Regions from separate parts of the Homo sapiens genome. Here region 2 is linked to region 1. The links are contacts of gene promoters, found by promoter capture Hi-C in blood cells and fetal thymus (Javierre and others, 2016). All regions are on one chromosome and are shown on one strand. The core of a region is centred on a gene start or on the middle of the fragment in contact, and the rest is flanking DNA. Distances in the headings are between cores, read along the strand shown.

Region 1 (4,743 bases), core at 736-3,235:
GACAGACAGATTTAGGAAAGCAGCTACATCTGCAGAGGAAGGAAACAGCATGTTACAGACAGTTAATTATACATAGAACATTTGACAAACACCACAGAAAACAAACTTTGGCATCATTTACCAGGGTACAAAACCTTGCACAAATCTTTTGGTAACTGAAGGGCATAAGTAATGTTCTGGGGCCTAAGCAGGTAGTTAACTCTAAATTAAGTAGTTTTAAATATAAGCATAGTCCAATACAATGACATAAATTTAAAAAATTAAAAAAGAAACTTGGAATTACATTTCCATTTTAGTAACAGGAATATCCCTGATTCACATTCTGAAACTGGGGCTTTTAAAAGAAAAGGGTGAATTAGACAGATGAATAAATAAATATTTCAGACATTATGATATGAGCTGCTCCCATATCATTTCATGAAAAGCTGAGGAACTGACCATTATTTTCAATTGAAAGGAATACCCATTCTATCAGTTTTCTGCCCTGATCAGGTATTAATGAGACACTAGCTAATACAGTACCCTGTCTAGGTCAGCTGCTGAGACAGGAACTAAAAAACAGAAGGAATTCCCTGCATGCATTATGTGAATTGTTAGCAAAAGAGTGAGGTGTGCCCCAGTCCATCTGAGGCACAGCAAGTTGCATAACATCATTACCACTTTGCAGGGTCTGCCGTCCTCCAGCTAACACTCCACTAGGCAACATCCCTGTGGGAGTCAGGCCCTTGAGTGTCAGCACACTTTCACTCTCCTCCCTATAGCAGAGAGATATAACAAATATCAGATACTTCCAACAAGTACTTAATTTAAAAGAAGACATAGGGTCTAGATATAGGCCATATATAAAATTCATGACATTCATTGCTATTACCATATTTTCCTCAATTTCAAGACATTAATTTTTCTATATTTTAAGTGTTTCAGGTATGAGGGTGTGCCTTACCATTGAGGCATATATTGTTTTTCCTGAAAAGCTTTATTAAATATGTGGTAAGATTCATCAAGGGGCATCATACTATTGAGAAAATATGGTATTTCATATGCTCTGAAGTTCAAATGTCTGATGTAGTCAGTTGTGCAAACAAATTTTTAAAGACTGACCTATTCATTTGTACCCTTTAACCTGGTCTTCCTGAATTAACCCCAGGGAAGGCAATTTATGGCTCCAGCACAAGGGACTTCCTATATGGATGAACAAGTTCATCAAGAATACTCTAAAAAGTATCCCCTCCTTCTTATCCTGCTCTAATTTTCAAGGTGTGAATTTAGTGTTATCACAAACGGAAAAGAGATACCAAAGATGAGCAATAACAATCACCAGAGTCAAAAATCTTAGCTTCAAAGGGACTTGTGTTCCCATCTTCAGTATACAAATATATAAACTTCTTTTTCTTTTTGAGACAAGGTCTCACTCCGTCACCCAGGCTGGAGTGCAGCGGCACAATCACGGCTCACTACTCACAACTTCCTGGGGCTCAGGTGATCCTCCCATCTCAGCCTCCCGAGTAGCTGGGACCACAGGTGCATGCCACCAGGCCCGGCTAATTTTTGTATTCTTTTTTGTGGAGATGGGGTTTCGCCATGTTTCCTAGCCTGGTCTTGAACTCCGCCCGCTTTGGCCTCCCAAAGTGTTGGGATTACAGGCGTGAGCCACTGCACCCAGCCTAAGGGCCTAAGTACCCTTTTTTTTTTTTTTTCTGAGACAGAGTCTCACTCTGTCACCCAGGCTGGAGTGCAGTGGCGTCATCTCAGATCACTGCAACCTCCACCTCCCGAGTTCAAGTGATTCTCCTGCCTCAGCCTCCCGAGTAGCTGGGACTACAGGCATGCACCACCACATCCAGTTAATTTTTCTATTTTTAGTAGAGACAGGGTTTCACCATGTTGGCCAGGATGGTCTCAATCTCTTGACCTCGTGATCCACCTGCCTTGGCCTCCCAAAGTGCTGGGATTACAGGCGTGAGCCACCACGCCTGGCCAGGCCTAAGTAACTTCTTTATAGGAAGAATGATACCCTGTTGCTTGTTGCTTTTTTTCTTTCTTTTTTTTTTTTTTTAGACAGAGCCTTGCTCAGTCGCCCAGTCTGGAGTGGCGCAGTCTCGGCTCACCGCAACTTCTGCCTCCTGGGTTCAAGCAATTCTTGTGCCTCAGCTTCCCGAGTAGCTGGGATTACAGGTGCATGCCACCACGCCCGGCTAATTTTTGTATATTTAGTAGAGATGGGGATTCACTATGTTGGCCAGGCTGGTTTCAAACTCCTGACCTCAGGTGATCCGCCCGCCTTGGCATCCCAAAATGCTGAGATTACAGGAGTGTGCCACCATACCCGGCCCCATTTTGCTTTTAGATGCGGGACAATGCTTGTAACAAGGTACAATAAACGTAATTTCTGCAAAACAAATAATCAAGAAAATATATCATTACCTGAGAACAGAGAAGACTCTTGCCATCTTGCCAATTGCTCGAATTTTGTTTCTTATGATTTCTTTCCGGGCTGCAGCTGAACCTACTTTCAATGGAATAAATAGAGAGAAAGGCTCAAGTTTAGGGCATGCATGCTTACAATATTCTATTAGCCTGTTCCACACTCATCTAAACCAGTACCAAGACCCCTGCCACCAGCTTACATGGAGGGGACTAGATGAACTCATGCTAAAAAATGTCTTGCTCTCTCAATGTTTAGCTCAGCATTGGTCTAATACTGGGGTCTGATAAATATAGAAATAAAAAGTAATCCACAAACTTTAATATTTCACTCTACTGGCTAATCAGTAAAACAGCAATGGGGAAAAAAAAACAAACAAACTTGAGCCCAACTTGCATTACAAACCAGAGGGCAAAAACTGATAATAATCCTATAGTCTCTGTTTAATTTTCATGACAGCCTATGGCATGCAGACTAACAGACAAGAATTTCTAACAGTCCTGTAGTCTTATTTAACTATCACAAAGTATTTGACATGCAGGCTGACAATATCCCATCAGACTATGACAGAATAAGCTTCTTTGCTTTGAGTTGGTCTAAAATGAATGGCATGAAGGAGCTACTGTGCAGGTAATCCTGAACTAAGGGCCATACCAGCATTTCAACAATGCACCAGGTGCCTAATGTACCAGGTGCTCCTAAGGTCATGCAAATATATACAATCTTTTACATCTCTAGGTGAGTATGACATAAGCAACAAGAAAAACATGGCTAAAGGATCACTACTGCTTCATCTCTAAAGGGTTAGCTGTGCTGTCTACAACTGATGTAGAAGAGAATAAACCAAAATAACTAAATCCTTGGCTGAAGAATGACTCAAAGGTTTTATCTTCCTTCCCTTGGCCTCCAGAAAGAACAACATCAATCTCAGTCCTGTTATTTCATATATAGCAACTAGAATCACTCTGGACCCAAAAGTGTGGTTCCTTAGAGCCGTGCTTCAACACAATGAAAACACACATGGAAGCACCATGGTTGAGGAGAAGGTTAAGGAAAGGCTAAAGACACTAATTCAAAAGGGGCCTTAGGTATACAGAGGTCTGAACAACTGTAAGTCTTCTGGGAGAGAACATCTCATTTAAAATTCAAGCAGTCCACAATTACATATAATTAAAAACTAAGATAATGACTGGATCTGACTGCAAGAAAAGAGAAAAAGAAATCCAACTTGAAAGACAGAAACAAAAGACATATTTTAGGGGAAAAAAATAGGCTCCATGACATGTTTATGATCTTCTAAAGGGTAAATATTATGAGCACTGAAGCTACAGCTTTTACAAGTCCAAAACTGTGTGGGTACCTGGGTACCACAGCACTCTAAACAGGTATTTTTAAAATACCAAAAAAAAAAACCACAAAAAAACCCCCAAAAACTAAAAATATAAGAATCATAGAATATTAGAATTTGAAGAGACAATGGAGATACTATAAAGTGCAATCTCCTCATTTTATAGACAAAGAAACTGAGGTTATTAAGTGACTTGTTCAAGGATAGAAGGTAAGTCTGATTCTCTTCTAATAAATGATTATAAACATTTTGTTTTAAAATTGACAGAATTTTAAAGTAGCTAGACTGGGGATAAGCAGTAGGGTGTTGGGGAGGATGGCTGTAATAAGTACATTCATATTTTCAGATTTAATTTCTATATCTATAAAACCAAATGACATGTAAACTATACTGATATCAAATGAAAAATTCACAGGAATATAAAAACACTGTACAAATCAGGATTTTAAATCAGTCTACAAACACATCATGCATCATATTAAAGTAAATGGTCACAGTAACATTTCTTTGGGAAATAATAGACAATCAAACAACCCTAATCATGCAGGGAAAAGTACAAAACATTACAAATAAGCAAAAGAATGAAATTTTAAAACAGGAATGAAAAGGAGGGAAAATATTTCCATGCACAGAAAGACAGATATCTTGGAATATGACTTCTAAAAATACCAAACACTAACACAGATAAAACTTAAGCTAAATTTGCACAAGGCCCAAGAGGACTCTGCATAGACATTACTCAATGAATGTGCTAACTTACATGGACATGAAGATAACTTATGAAGTCATATTTCAAAACAATGTTACTCTGTCTGGTCTGTACCTTTTTTATTGCCATATATGAGCCGTTCTTCAGATGGAGAGTCCAGAAAAAAGGAAGTGAATGATGGAGAAAAGGTGGTTGGGACAAATAAAAAGATAGAGATTTAACTTGGCAGTGGTACTGAAGAATGAATGTAGAAAGAGAGAA
Region 2 (4,743 bases), core at 1,282-3,781, 210 kb after region 1:
AGGTAACAAGAACGGTCTCTGTGGGAAAGCACGGGAGGCATAGAGCAGGGAGAACGTTTACCCTTAGACCTTGTTCTGTAGCTCACATCAAAAATAGCAAAGCCTGAGATAAGTGGAATGGGCTTTTTCTGCCCAGGCCAACATTCTTGCCTGAGATAAGGAGCCAAAGCTCCCTCCCTCTGCCACTTCCTCGGGATCTCATGATCATCCCATAGCCTCTCAGTCCCCAGGAATCCGAACTGAACTTGCAAATGTCAAAGGTGCCTGCTATTAATACTATAAAGAATCCTTTGGCCAATGGCTCACGCCTGCAATCCCAGCACTTTGGGAGGCCGAGGCGGGTGGATCACAAGGTCAGGAGTTCGAGACCAGCCTGGCCAACATAGTGAAACGCCGTCTCTACTAAAAATACAAAAAATTAGCCAGGTGTAGTGGCGGGCACCTGTAATCCCAGCTACTCGGGAGGCTGAGGCAGGAGAATTGCTTGAACCCAGGAGGTGGAGGGTGCAGTGAACCAAGATTGCACTCCAGCCCGGGTGACAGTGCAAGACTCTATCTCAAAAAAAAAAAAAAAAAAAAAAAACCAGAAAAAAAAAAGAACCCCTGTAGCTTTGACCCACTTTTATTTATTAATTTTTATTATTTATTTATTTATTTATTTTTAAGACAGGGTCTTGGTCTGTTGCTCACGCTGGAGTGCAGTGGCGCAAACATGGCTCACTGCAGCCCAAACCTCTCAGGCTCAAGCAATCCTCTTGCCTCAGCCTCCCAAGTAGCTGGGACCATAGACATGTGCCACAGTGTTTGGCTAATTTTAAAATTTTTACTGGAGACGAAGTCTCACGATGTTGTCCAGGCTGGTCTCAAACTCCTGGCTTCTGCCGGGCATGGTGGCTCACGCCTGTAATCCCAGCACTTTGGGAGGCCGAGGTAGGCATATCACCTGAGGTCAGGAGTTCGAGACCAGCCTGACCAGTATGGTGAAACCCCATCTCTACTAAAAATACAAAAAATTAGCCAGGTGTGGTGGCGGGTGCCTATAATCCCAGCTACTCGGGAGGCAGAGGCTGGAGAATCGCTTGAACCCGGGAGGCGGAGGTTGCAATGAGCCAAGATCACGCCATTGCATTCCAGCCTAGGCACAAGAGCCAAACTCCATCTCAAAAAAACAAAAAACAAAACAAAACAAAAATCCTGCGTTCATGCTATCCTCCCACCTCAGCCTCCCAAAGTGCTTGGATTACAGGTATGAGCCACCTTGCCCCGCCTTCAACCTGCTTTTAAATACTCCCCTGTCCTGTGTCTGTACTCTGCTTTCACCCAATCATGACACACAATAACAATTATCACCACCACCAAACCCTTCATCTATTTGTGTCCCTTTCCAATTTCCCTACTTACCCTGTTCCTGGGTTGAACTGAATCACCTTACCCTTTTGCCACATTGGTTCAAACAGCAAAAATAATGGTGGCCATGAGAATAATTATGCTCCCCTTCTACTCATTACCCCTCCTGTCCCCAAGACTGTATCCAAGGGTCCCAAGGTAGGGAGAATGTACGGCTATAGAAGGCTGGATTTAAGGCTCAGATTGAAGGATCCTGGCTGGGGAAAAGGGGTTCAGGCACTCACTGGCTTGCTTGGCCTTCTGGGTGTAGGTGGTAGTAAGATCTTCTGCCACTGGGTGGGGAACAGGCCCCACCATAGGGATGAGATGAGGACCAGGTCGGAGGGGGCCATGGGGTAACAGCAGAGCCTCAGCTGGGGGTGGCTGAAGGGCTGCCCCATCCTCCCAAGACGGGGAGCTCACACGGCTGTCACCCTGGCTGGGAGGGCCAGGGATAGTAGGTGCTGGCTCTGCAGGGCTGTCAGACAGGTAGACCTCATCAGGTGGGGCACCCGGAGGGGTGGGCCTTGTGGGGCCTCGGCGGCGAGGTCGACGGGGCTTCTCCTGGGTGGCAGGGCCATCAGCATCACTGTCAGTCTCTCCGTAGTAAGCCTCACTATCAGGAGGTGAACGAAGGCTCCCAGGCTGAAGAGGCTGAGGAACTGGAGCACCAGGGGGCTCAGGACTTAGTGGAGATAAGGGTGACAGCACCTGAAGCTCATGGGGAGATGGAGATTGCACAGGACCCTCGTCTGCTAACCTGGATAGGAAAGATGACAGAGCTTGAGAGATGGGCTGGGTACTGACAGCTAGAGAGATCTGGAAGGGATGGAGGGAAGAGGTAAGGGGGAGGGAAGAGGTAAGGGAGAGAGAAGGCTGTCATACAGTTGGAATGGGTGGGCCGGGAAGAGTGGAGATATGAAGACAAACTGGGAGGCAAATGTGCTTGAAGGGCTGTGAGTGGAAATAGGCTTAGAGGAAGATGTAATGAGGAGGAAACAGGCCAGGGGTTGAAGTAGGCTCATCAGTCAAATACCCACTGACATCCCCATCCCTTAATTGCAGATACATTCAAGCCCTCTGGGAGGCAGACACAAACCATCTGCACTCCAGCAGAAACGCACGAGCAGAAATAGGTACCTGTTAGTTGCTAAAGCCAGGCCAGTGAGACATAGAGCTGAGACAGGCAATGGGAGCCCTGGATTAGGGGAAGAGAAGAGGAGAGAGGTCCATACCGCTGCACAGTGAGGACAAGCTGATTTCCTGAGGCATCGATGAGGCTCATGGCACTGGCATGGGAGAGGTTGGTGCAAGAGACCCCATTGATTGCCAAGAGCTGGTCCCTCTCTCGGAGTCCTGCTCTGCCAGCCTGGCTCCGTCTTCGAATCTGAGATGTTGAAGGAGACACTGTAGGTAAGAGGGGGCTCCAAAGGGAATAGAATGAAAGGAAAAGATGGGAAGGACCCACAGGAGGGGATTTTACTTTGCAGGGTAAGAAGGGTGGGGAGATGCATGGAAGTGGCTGCAGTTGAAGTGGCCTGTCTAGAGGGAAGAAAGTATACAGACTGGAGAAAGAAATACATCATATGGTGGGAAATAGGGTAACCATTGAATGAAAGAGGCTTGGGAAGAACTGCATGGGGTAGGTAACTAGAAATGGTGGTTATTGGCTGGGTGCAGTGGCTCACGCCTGTAAGCCCAGTGCTTTGGGAGGCCTAGGTGGGTGGATCACTTGAGATCAGGAGTTTGAGACCAGCCTGGCCAATGGGTGAAACGCTGTCTCTACTAAAAGTACAAAAATCAGCTGGCCGTGGTGGTGTGCGCCTGTAATCCCAGATACTTGGGAGGCTGAGGCAGGAGAATTGCTTGAACCCAGGAAGCAGAGGTTGCAGTGAGCCATCATGTCACTGCACTCCAGCCTGGGCAACAGAGTAAGACTCTGTCGCAAAAAAAAAGAAAAGAAAAAAAACGGAAAGAAATGGTGATTATCTCCACAAGCTTTTTCTCCAAGGGCAATATCTATATTGGCTGGTAATTCTCTACTAGGCCTTGTAACCCCAGGCGCCATTACACAGTCAAGATTTTAGAACAGTACTCCAGGTTGGAGGGAGTCCAGCGGTATTCTGGGAGATTGTGATTATTTGGGTATATGTGTGCCATGTATACACACAAATGTATATATGCCAAAGTAATAATAGTAGTAGTGGCTACCATTTATTGAGTTCTTACTAAGTGTTGGGCACTGTGCTACATGTATTATTGCATTTAATCCTTAGAATGGTTCCATGAAGTAGGTACAGGTACTATTATTACCCACATTTTACAGTTCGGAAAACTAAGCCTGTAGGGTGAAACCAAAAGGATAATGACTTCATCTGTGAGGCCAGATCTTGCCATAACCCTCCTAGCACCTAAAAAAGTCTTGCCTAGTGAGAGAAAGGATCTGACCTAGGGAAAGAGCACTGAAGGCATGGGCAGGGCAGGGTGAGGCAGGGTAGGGCTGGGCTGGGCTAGGCTGTTCGAGGCAGTTTCAGTTCATCACATATCAGTTTAGTCAGAGAGAAATTAGAACCTTCCCCGTATTTCTGGAGTTTGGAGTAGAGGCACATACCCAAGAGAACAAACACTGGATGACCAGAGCTGGGCCTCTGATACCACAGTGCTGCAGGGAACTGAAGCAGAGCCTTTCCTTTTCCTCTGCTCCCTGGAAACCGCGAATTCTCTTTTCTAATAGACCCCCACAGGAAGCCTGTGGTCAGACGCTACTCCCACTATGAGACTTGAGCATACTTCCCTGCCCACCACCCACCCCATCTTCACAGCCTCCCACCCCCCCAACCCCCGCCATATGCCACCACACATCTCTTCCCAGGATCCCTTGGGTTCCCTTTCCCTGAAGCCTCATTTCAGGGGCTCTCCCTTACCTTAGACACCTGTAACGGTTTCCTCTGCTCGGCCCCCCCATGAAGTCGGAAGCCCCAGGGGGCTCCCCCTGATAGTGTGACCAGCACCTCCTCCTCAGCACCCATCGCTCAGCTTGGCCTATGGCCCCCGGAGTTTGAACAGTGTCCCCAGGAGAGAAGTTGAGGTGCTCGAACCCCGTCTGGGCTTCCTGTCCGGCTGTCCTGCTCCTGCTGCCCCAGGCCTCCCCCCCACACCACACACCACAGGCAGGCAACTTGGCCCTGGGATCATTACAGTCCAGCACACATGTCCCGTCAATCGCAGATGTGCTCAAAATAGATGCCGCTTGTACTCCCCTCCCTCCCCCTTCTGTGTTACTCCTAGAGCTAATTATAGTACAAACTTCTGCCCTCCATGTTCCCAATTCTCCTGCATGGGCCTTTTATTCAGGAC

The links. Contacts are between HindIII fragments. The CHiCAGO score rates a contact against its expected background, and 5 or more counts as called.
Region 2: a contact is called between the fragment with the promoter of SYNPO2L-AS1 here and a fragment that was not itself captured in region 1, in 1 of 17 cell types (endothelial precursors). The highest score is 5.1, in endothelial precursors.

Annotation. Positions count from the first base shown.
Region 1 is chr10:73,444,068-73,448,810 of GRCh38, forward strand. It overlaps PPP3CB (protein phosphatase 3 catalytic subunit beta), which reads right to left. Exons shown (of 14, transcript NM_021132.4): 11 at 2,425-2,506; 12 at 658-755. Among named protein-coding and RNA genes, the nearest start is that of MSS51, 13 kb to the left of the region's middle. The HindIII fragment of the contact is 2,027 bases long and covers 973-2,999 here.
Region 2 is chr10:73,651,508-73,656,250 of GRCh38, forward strand. It overlaps SYNPO2L-AS1 (SYNPO2L antisense RNA 1), which reads left to right and starts at 2,532. Exons shown (of 3, transcript NR_187519.1): 1 at 2,532-2,799. It overlaps SYNPO2L (synaptopodin 2 like), which reads right to left and starts at 4,522. Exons shown (of 4, transcript NM_001114133.3): 1 at 4,311-4,522; 2 at 2,622-2,773; 3 at 1,632-2,146. The coding sequence starts at 4,415. RefSeq lists a silencer at 4,464-4,743. The HindIII fragment of the contact is 5,539 bases long and covers 1-3,382 here.